2 separate regions of the Homo sapiens genome follow, and region 1 is linked to region 2. Evidence: promoter capture Hi-C in 16 types of primary human blood cells and fetal thymus (Javierre and others, 2016). All regions are on one chromosome and are shown on one strand. The core of a region is centred on a gene start or on the middle of the fragment in contact, and the rest is flanking DNA. Distances in the headings are between cores, read along the strand shown.

The links. Contacts are between HindIII fragments. The CHiCAGO score rates a contact against its expected background, and 5 or more counts as called.
Region 1: a contact is called between a fragment that was not itself captured here and the fragment with the promoter of FZD5 in region 2, in 1 of 17 cell types (neutrophils). The highest score is 5.7, in neutrophils.

The regions. Positions count from the first base shown.
Region 1 is chr2:207,502,145-207,505,611 of GRCh38, forward strand. No RefSeq gene overlaps it. Among named protein-coding and RNA genes, the nearest start is that of CREB1, 26 kb to the right of the region's middle. RefSeq lists an enhancer at 1,395-1,454. The HindIII fragment of the contact is 2,768 bases long and covers 1-2,747 here.
Region 2 is chr2:207,768,656-207,771,959 of GRCh38, forward strand. FZD5 (frizzled class receptor 5) reads right to left here and starts at 1,251. Exons shown (of 2, transcript NM_003468.4): 1 at 610-1,251; 2 at 1-339. The coding sequence starts at 84. RefSeq lists silencers at 2-61, 472-531, 872-1,551 and enhancers at 2,102-2,151, 2,316-3,136. The HindIII fragment of the contact is 9,976 bases long and covers 1-3,304 here.

The DNA of each region.
Region 1 (3,467 bases), core at 114-2,613, 270 kb before region 2:
CCAACCCAATACATTTCTAGAGAGAAAAATCTAGAGTTGCCACAGGTCAATGAGTCTGTATAAAAAGCCTAAATGCTAAAGGAAGCAGGAAATATGGGGTACCATTCTACGCACACAAGCTGATGGGATGGAACCAGGACCAGAGAGAATGGGGTTATGGGAAATGGATACAGAGGCTGGCTCAGCCATGAGCCACTTGGTAGATAGGTCAAAGCACATAATCATAAGGACATGACAATCTCAGGGTGGAGATGACGTTGGCAAGTGGAGTGCAAACAGCTAAAAGGAAAGCAGGTGACAGTTCTGAGTGGTGCTAGCAGAACCCGAAATGAAAGGTGGAGTGTGCCAGGAACAGCAAGAGAGGGGACTGGCAAAATCCTGTGTGGGGCTAGAGAATTGGGAGGCAGCATCCATTTACAGGGAAGACCCAGATTCTGGGCAGGGATACTGAGGCAAAAATTCAGGCTTATGAATAGTAAAAGCTACATGGCATACTTACTACATGTCTACATGCCAAGTGCTTTAAACTATATTTCACTGAATTCTGCCAAAAACCCCATGAGGAGGGAACTTTTATCATCTCCATTTTTCAGATGAAGAAACTAAGGCAGACAGAATATATGTGTTTTGCTCACAGTCACATAGCTCATATATCAGTCAGCTCCAGATGCCATAACAGAATACACAGACCGGGTGGCTTAAACAACAGAAATAGATTTTCTTGACATTCTGGAGGTTCAAAATCTAAGATCGAGGTGCTGGCAGGGTTAGTTCCTGGCGAGGCCTCTATTCTCAGCTTGCAGATGGCCACCTTCTTCTATGTCCTCACATGGCCTCTTCTCTGTGCACTCGTGGAAAGAGATCACTGGTTTCTCTTCCTCTTCTTACAAAAACACCAGCCCTGTCAGATTAGGGTCCCACCCTTAGGAACCCCATTTAACTGTAATTACCTCCTTAAAGGCCCTATCTTTAAATATAGTCATATTGTGGGCTGAGGCTTCAACAACACATGAATTTGAGGAAGACACAGTCCAGTTCATAATAGCTCATAAGGAGCAAACATAGACAGTGTGACTCCAGAGCCTGATGCTTTTCGTGTGTGTTAATACATATTTTATCAAGGTATAATTTAAATATTATAGCTCACTTAGTTTTGAATAAATGCTTATGTCCATGGGACCCACATGTCTATCAAGAACGATACAGTTCTCTCAGCCACCACACCCTACCAGACCTCGTGATGACAGAAGGTGCTGCCACTGGTAGATTTCACAGCAGGCAGTAGTCATCCCTAGAACTGTGGACACAAGGTCCACCCCCAGCCAAGACTCGATTCTGAGCTCCCTCCCTCCCATGCACACACTGCATGGGGCTTCCTGCCTGGGCCAGTCCTCACGCTCTGCTGCTGTTCTCTGGGTCCCAGGAGACTGACCACTGCAAGCTGTATTTCCCAGGATATTTTTCCTCCTCCCTCTCTGCCTTGGGCAGTATCTCAGCATCTCTTCTCTGGCTCCAGCTCCCAACAGATGACCCTAGTGCCTCCTCTTCGGTTTAAAAAAAAAAAAATACGACCTCCTCCCTGTTGACCTCCAGTTTAGAAGTGGTACTGGTTTTCTGCTATCACAATTCTTTGGATTATCTCACCATCCATTGTTTGGCTTCTCAGCTCTTTTGTCTCCTGTATAACCAGTTCCCTGCATATTCCCTCTGTTTCAAATGCTCAGCAGGGTTTCTCTTTTCTGGATTATACTTTTCTGGTATACTGACATATTCCCTATTTGTCATAACTGGCTCAGTAACTGGGATGAGTCTAGATATATAGATGGAGCCCAGGCACAGAGGCTGAAAGCTAGAGGACTCATAAGCAGAGGTTTCTCCAAGAGAATACCAGGAATTGTATTACATTTGTTCTCCACTTATTGACAACTTATTGGTCCATCTTGTTATCAAATTTGCACTTGTTTGATTTATTCACTGTCTATGGCTCACCTATTTTTCAGGTAGACCTCTAACTGACATCAAGACAAAACATGCCTTTATCACCAGCTTCTTCAGCTGTTGTCATAACTGTAAGCTACTATTGGATTCGTCACACTGCAAATACCTCATGTTCTCACTTATAAGTGGAAGCTAAATGATGAGAACACACGGACACACAGAGGGGAATAACACACACTGGGGCCTATTGGAGGGTGGAGGGTGGGAGGAGGGAGAGGATCAGGAAAAATACCTAATAGGATTAATACCTGGGTGATGAAATGAGACAAGTTTACTTGTGTAACAAACCTGCAGCTTACCTACGTAACCTATTACCCCTGAACTTAAAAGTTTAAAAAAAAATGTGCTTGCTAATATGAAATGGTTGGGGAGAAAAGAGGGACTAAGGAAGACAGGATGGGACACTAACACCGAGGAGCCTTCAACAGCCTGTGGATATTCCTGGGGATCCTATCAGCCAGCTGGGGGTGGAGGAGGAGCCACAGGCAGAGCCTTTCAAGAGGCAAATGCCCGTCCAGCTCTGGCCCCAGTTTTCCTTACGGCAGCCTCTGCTTAACTATAAAATCTATACTGAGTAGATTACCATGACTACCGCAGAAAGACCTCCACCTCTAGTTTGGCTGCAAAACTAAGTCTTTTCTTCCAAGAGCCTTTGGCTTTAGGAGGGAGCACCAGGAGGCAGACTGCAGCCACTGGCTCACTGCCCTACATGCCAGGGCCTTCTGCAGAACCGCAATAGTTACAAGTCAAGCTTCCTTTCCTCAGCCCATACCACCAAAGCAATGGGCTGTTGGCGTGCCCTGACAGCAGGAGGAGAAGCCCCACTGTCAGGGGGTAAAAAGAAACGACACAGTTCCCACTTCTTCACTCTACGTGATAAATCACTTCAGCTGGGAGAACTGTCATGAAACGACCTGGCAGCTAATGAGAGAAATGGAACCCAAAAAAAGAAAGAAAGGAAGAAAGAATCCTGTTAGTCACAGAGCTTTTCATCTGAACCGCAGAACAGGCTCGTGCTTTTTGCTTTCTGTGGGAATAATAAAATCACAGTCCTGTAACTATATTAGCTCCTCAAACAAAAGTAACTCCCTAGAATAAAATTATGAGGGGTTTCTGAGTTGGATTTAGTTTTCACTGGGTAAAGGCATAAATTAAAAGGAGGAACCGGGTACCCTTAAGAAAGTCAATGAAGTAACTAAGCTTGCTATTCAAACCAGGAAAACACAGGCTGTGAGGCAGCTTCACTCTGCAGTCTATTCAACACCTGGCGAACAAAACAACACTGACTCTGCCCAAGCCGGGATTTTCCCACAGTGGACCAGCAATTTCAGAGGCCCCTAGAATGCCAGGACTGTGTCTTAGACCTTGGAAAATAGGATGAAAAGGACAGGCTCAAAGGGATATTTAGTTCCAAAGGAAAATCACAAAAGCTAAAAGTTATTATAAGAGAAAGGCCCTAAAGCACATTA
Region 2 (3,304 bases), core at 1-2,500:
GGACGCGGCGGCCGCCCGGCCCACCAGCTGCGCTAGGAGCAGCAGCAACAGCGAGGGCGGCGCGGATGGGTCAGGCCGAGCCATCGCCCCCTCCCTCCCCTCGCCTCCAGCAGCCCGCGAGGGACGCACACAGGCAGAGGAATCCGGGCCGGGGCTTCTCCCTCCGGCGTCTCGTGTGTGGCGCCGGGGCTGGCAACCTGTTGGTTGCTTTTTCCTTTAAAGAAAACCGTCCAAAGATAAACTGCTTCGGGAAGGCGCTGCCTCCGCTGGCAGCGCTCCGCTCCTCGCCGGATAGGGCTGGGGAGAGACGGTTAGGGCTCGGATTCCAGGGAAAGGACTCTTTAAAAAAGAAGGGGGAGAAGAAAGATTGCAACCACTCCCTGTTGGAGAGGCGTCAACAGTTCGGTCCCCGCGAGCTGTCTCCAAATCTCTTAAGTTAACCCCTTTCCTTTCCTCCCCGCTCCGCCTCCTGTAACCAAACTACCGACTCCCCCACCCTCTCTTTCCAAGCTGGGCCCTTCAGGCAGTGCCCGGAGACCAGAACCCTCAGCTTCCCGGAAAAGGGCACAGGAAACGGGAGAAGAACAGGGAGAAAGGGAAGGTTCTCACCTCCACGGATCCCGCCGAGAAGAGCAGACAGTCCCCAGCCAGCCTGGGTCCTCCGTCCCTGGGTCACTCCGCTGAGAAGCGCGACTCAGAGCCGGGCTGGCGCCCGGAAAGTTTAGCGACAGGCTGGGTACCCGTGGCAGCGGCACATGGCAGCAGGTGGGGGCGACTCAGAGTGGGGGGCGCCCCCAGAACAGGGGCGGCGCAGGCCGGTCACTCGCCCTCTCCTCCTCGGGAGCCCCCCGCATGATCCAGACGGAGCCGGGCAGGGGCAGGCCGTGCGTTCTCCCCGGGGCCGGGAGCCGGACGGAGGGCGAGCGCGCCTGGCAGCACCTGGGCGGGAGGAAGGCGGGAGGCGGGGGCCGTGGGACCCCGCCGCCTCACAGCACCGCGAGCAGCCGGCGCTGGCCAGGCCGGGACTGCATGGTGAGCGCCGGCCGCCGCGTCCCGCCCGCCGCTCGCCTCCTCCCCTGCAGGGGGCTCCGCGCTCCAGTGGACTCCTGGGGGCGGTGGCGACGCTCTCGGGACGTGCCCTGCTCGGCTCCTCCCCCGCGCTCTCGCACCCTTTCGCCCACCTCTGGCGAGCACGGAACCGCGCGCGGCGGCGACCACAGCGGACTCACGGCCGCAGGCTGGCTGCCCTCTCCCGCCCCGCCCGGGTCACCTGCTTCTAATGCCCGCCGGGAAGCCCCGCCCCGGCTCCGCCCCCTCAGGCCCGGGCGCGGTTGGTGGGCCGCCTCGCCAAGCTCTCCGCGCGTCCCCGCCCACTGCCCCGCGGGCTCGGCCTTTCCCCCGGCGCCCTCTGGCCCCGCCAGGAGCGGGCAGCCAAGGAGCGCTGACCAATCGCGGGCCTGGAGGAGATGGGGGCGGGGCGAATGCTAATCATGCCGCTCTGGGCACCCGGGCGGGAAGCCCTTGCCAGAAGTCCCTCCGGAGTTCTCTGCCCGCGCCCTGGGTGCAGGACTCGCTCCTGTAACTTCCTGGCTTATGCACCTTTGCTCCCAGGGCCCCTGCCCTTTCTGCCTGCAGCTAAGCGTCCTTACAGAGTTCAGTGCTTCTTTGAAAGAACTGCTCAAGGAATCACTCTTAGGCGTGGCTGTCTCCCTTCCGAGCTGTCTTGGAACTGTGTGAAAGAAGAGAGGATACTTACTGAGCCCTTTACTGTGTGCCCAACAAAGTGTTAATCGGTTACATCCTTTTTTTTTTTTTTTTTTTTTGAGACGAGTTGTTCTGTCTCCCAGGCTGGAGTGCAGTGGCGCGATCTCGGCTCACTGCAACCTCTGTCTCCCGGGTTCAAGCGATTATCCTGCCTCAGCCTCCTGCGTAGCTGGGATTACTGGCGCCCGCCACCACGCCCAGCTAATTTTTGTATTTTTGGTAGAGACGGGCTTTCACCATGTAAGGCTGTTCTCGAACTCCTGACACCGTGATCTGCCCGCCTCGGCCTCCCAAAATGCTGGGATTACAGGTGTGAGCCACCGCGCCCGGCCCGTTTACATCTTAAGACAAGATCTCACTCCTTACAACAATTCTGAGGCAGGTACTTCCTACAGGTGAAGAAACCGAGACTGAGACTTGGCCAAGGCAACCGAGCTAATCATAGTTCCCCCAAGAAAGGGCGACCTCGGCAAGCAAGTTCACCTCCGTATTCCGATCACCTGGCACATAGTAGCCGCCCAAATGGCAACCCTGGGATTCGAACCCAGGTAGTTGGTCAGCGGCACTCACCATCGTAGCCGCCCCTCCCCCCATACTATCGCAGCCTCCCTGGCTTCGACCTTTACTTTTGCATCTCTTAACAAAATCTTGTTGTGACAAGAAAATGGATTTCTTTCTGCCTTTAGAAGACCCAGAAAGATGTGAGTCCTTTATTGGTCGAGGTTTATAATCCCAGGCAGTTCCGAAGTCGCCCGCAGAGAGAAGCGATACCGACCCAGGGTTCTGTGCTGGGCAGGGCGCCGGCCTCCCCGTGCCCTTCCGTCCCCGGCTGCCTGCTGCTAAGCCGCGCACTTGCGCGCCGCGGGGGGTCGGAGGGCGCACCGATGGCGGGGACACGGCGGCGCTCTTCAGTTGCGCAATTATGCTACAAGTTTTAAATGTCCTAAAAATGCCTCTTTTCTATGTGTTGTAATTAGATTGGAAGACTGAGGTATTTAGCATACTTGAAATACATTCACACGCCTAGGAAGAGGGTTTAAATTTTTTCCTTCTCCCCAAACTTTTCCTTCCACTGGGCAAAGGGCGAAAATAGGCAAGAGGGCCTGGGGACACTTGAAGGGATAGGGACTGGACTAACTGGACTAGATCCAGATCAACCGCGGGTTACTGTCCATCTCCTGTGCTGGATCCCATTGGCACAGGTTGGAAGAATAAATTGCGGAAGTGCCACTCCCCTCCTGCGTATCAACAACGCTTTGTGGGCAATAATGAAGAACACGTGTGTTAATCCCAGCCTCCAAGTTAAAAAGGAACAAATATCAATCACTTCGCGGATATCAAAACTATTAATAAACGTTTAAAAGGCCGGGCGCCATAGCTCACGCCTGTAATCCTAACACTTTGGGAGGCTGAGGTGGGAGGATGGCTTGAACCCAGGAGTTTGCAGACCAGCCTGAGCAACATAGCAAGACCCCCAACTCTAAAATACATAATTAAATAAATGAATAAATATACCTTACATCTTTCTTTCTCTGGAATT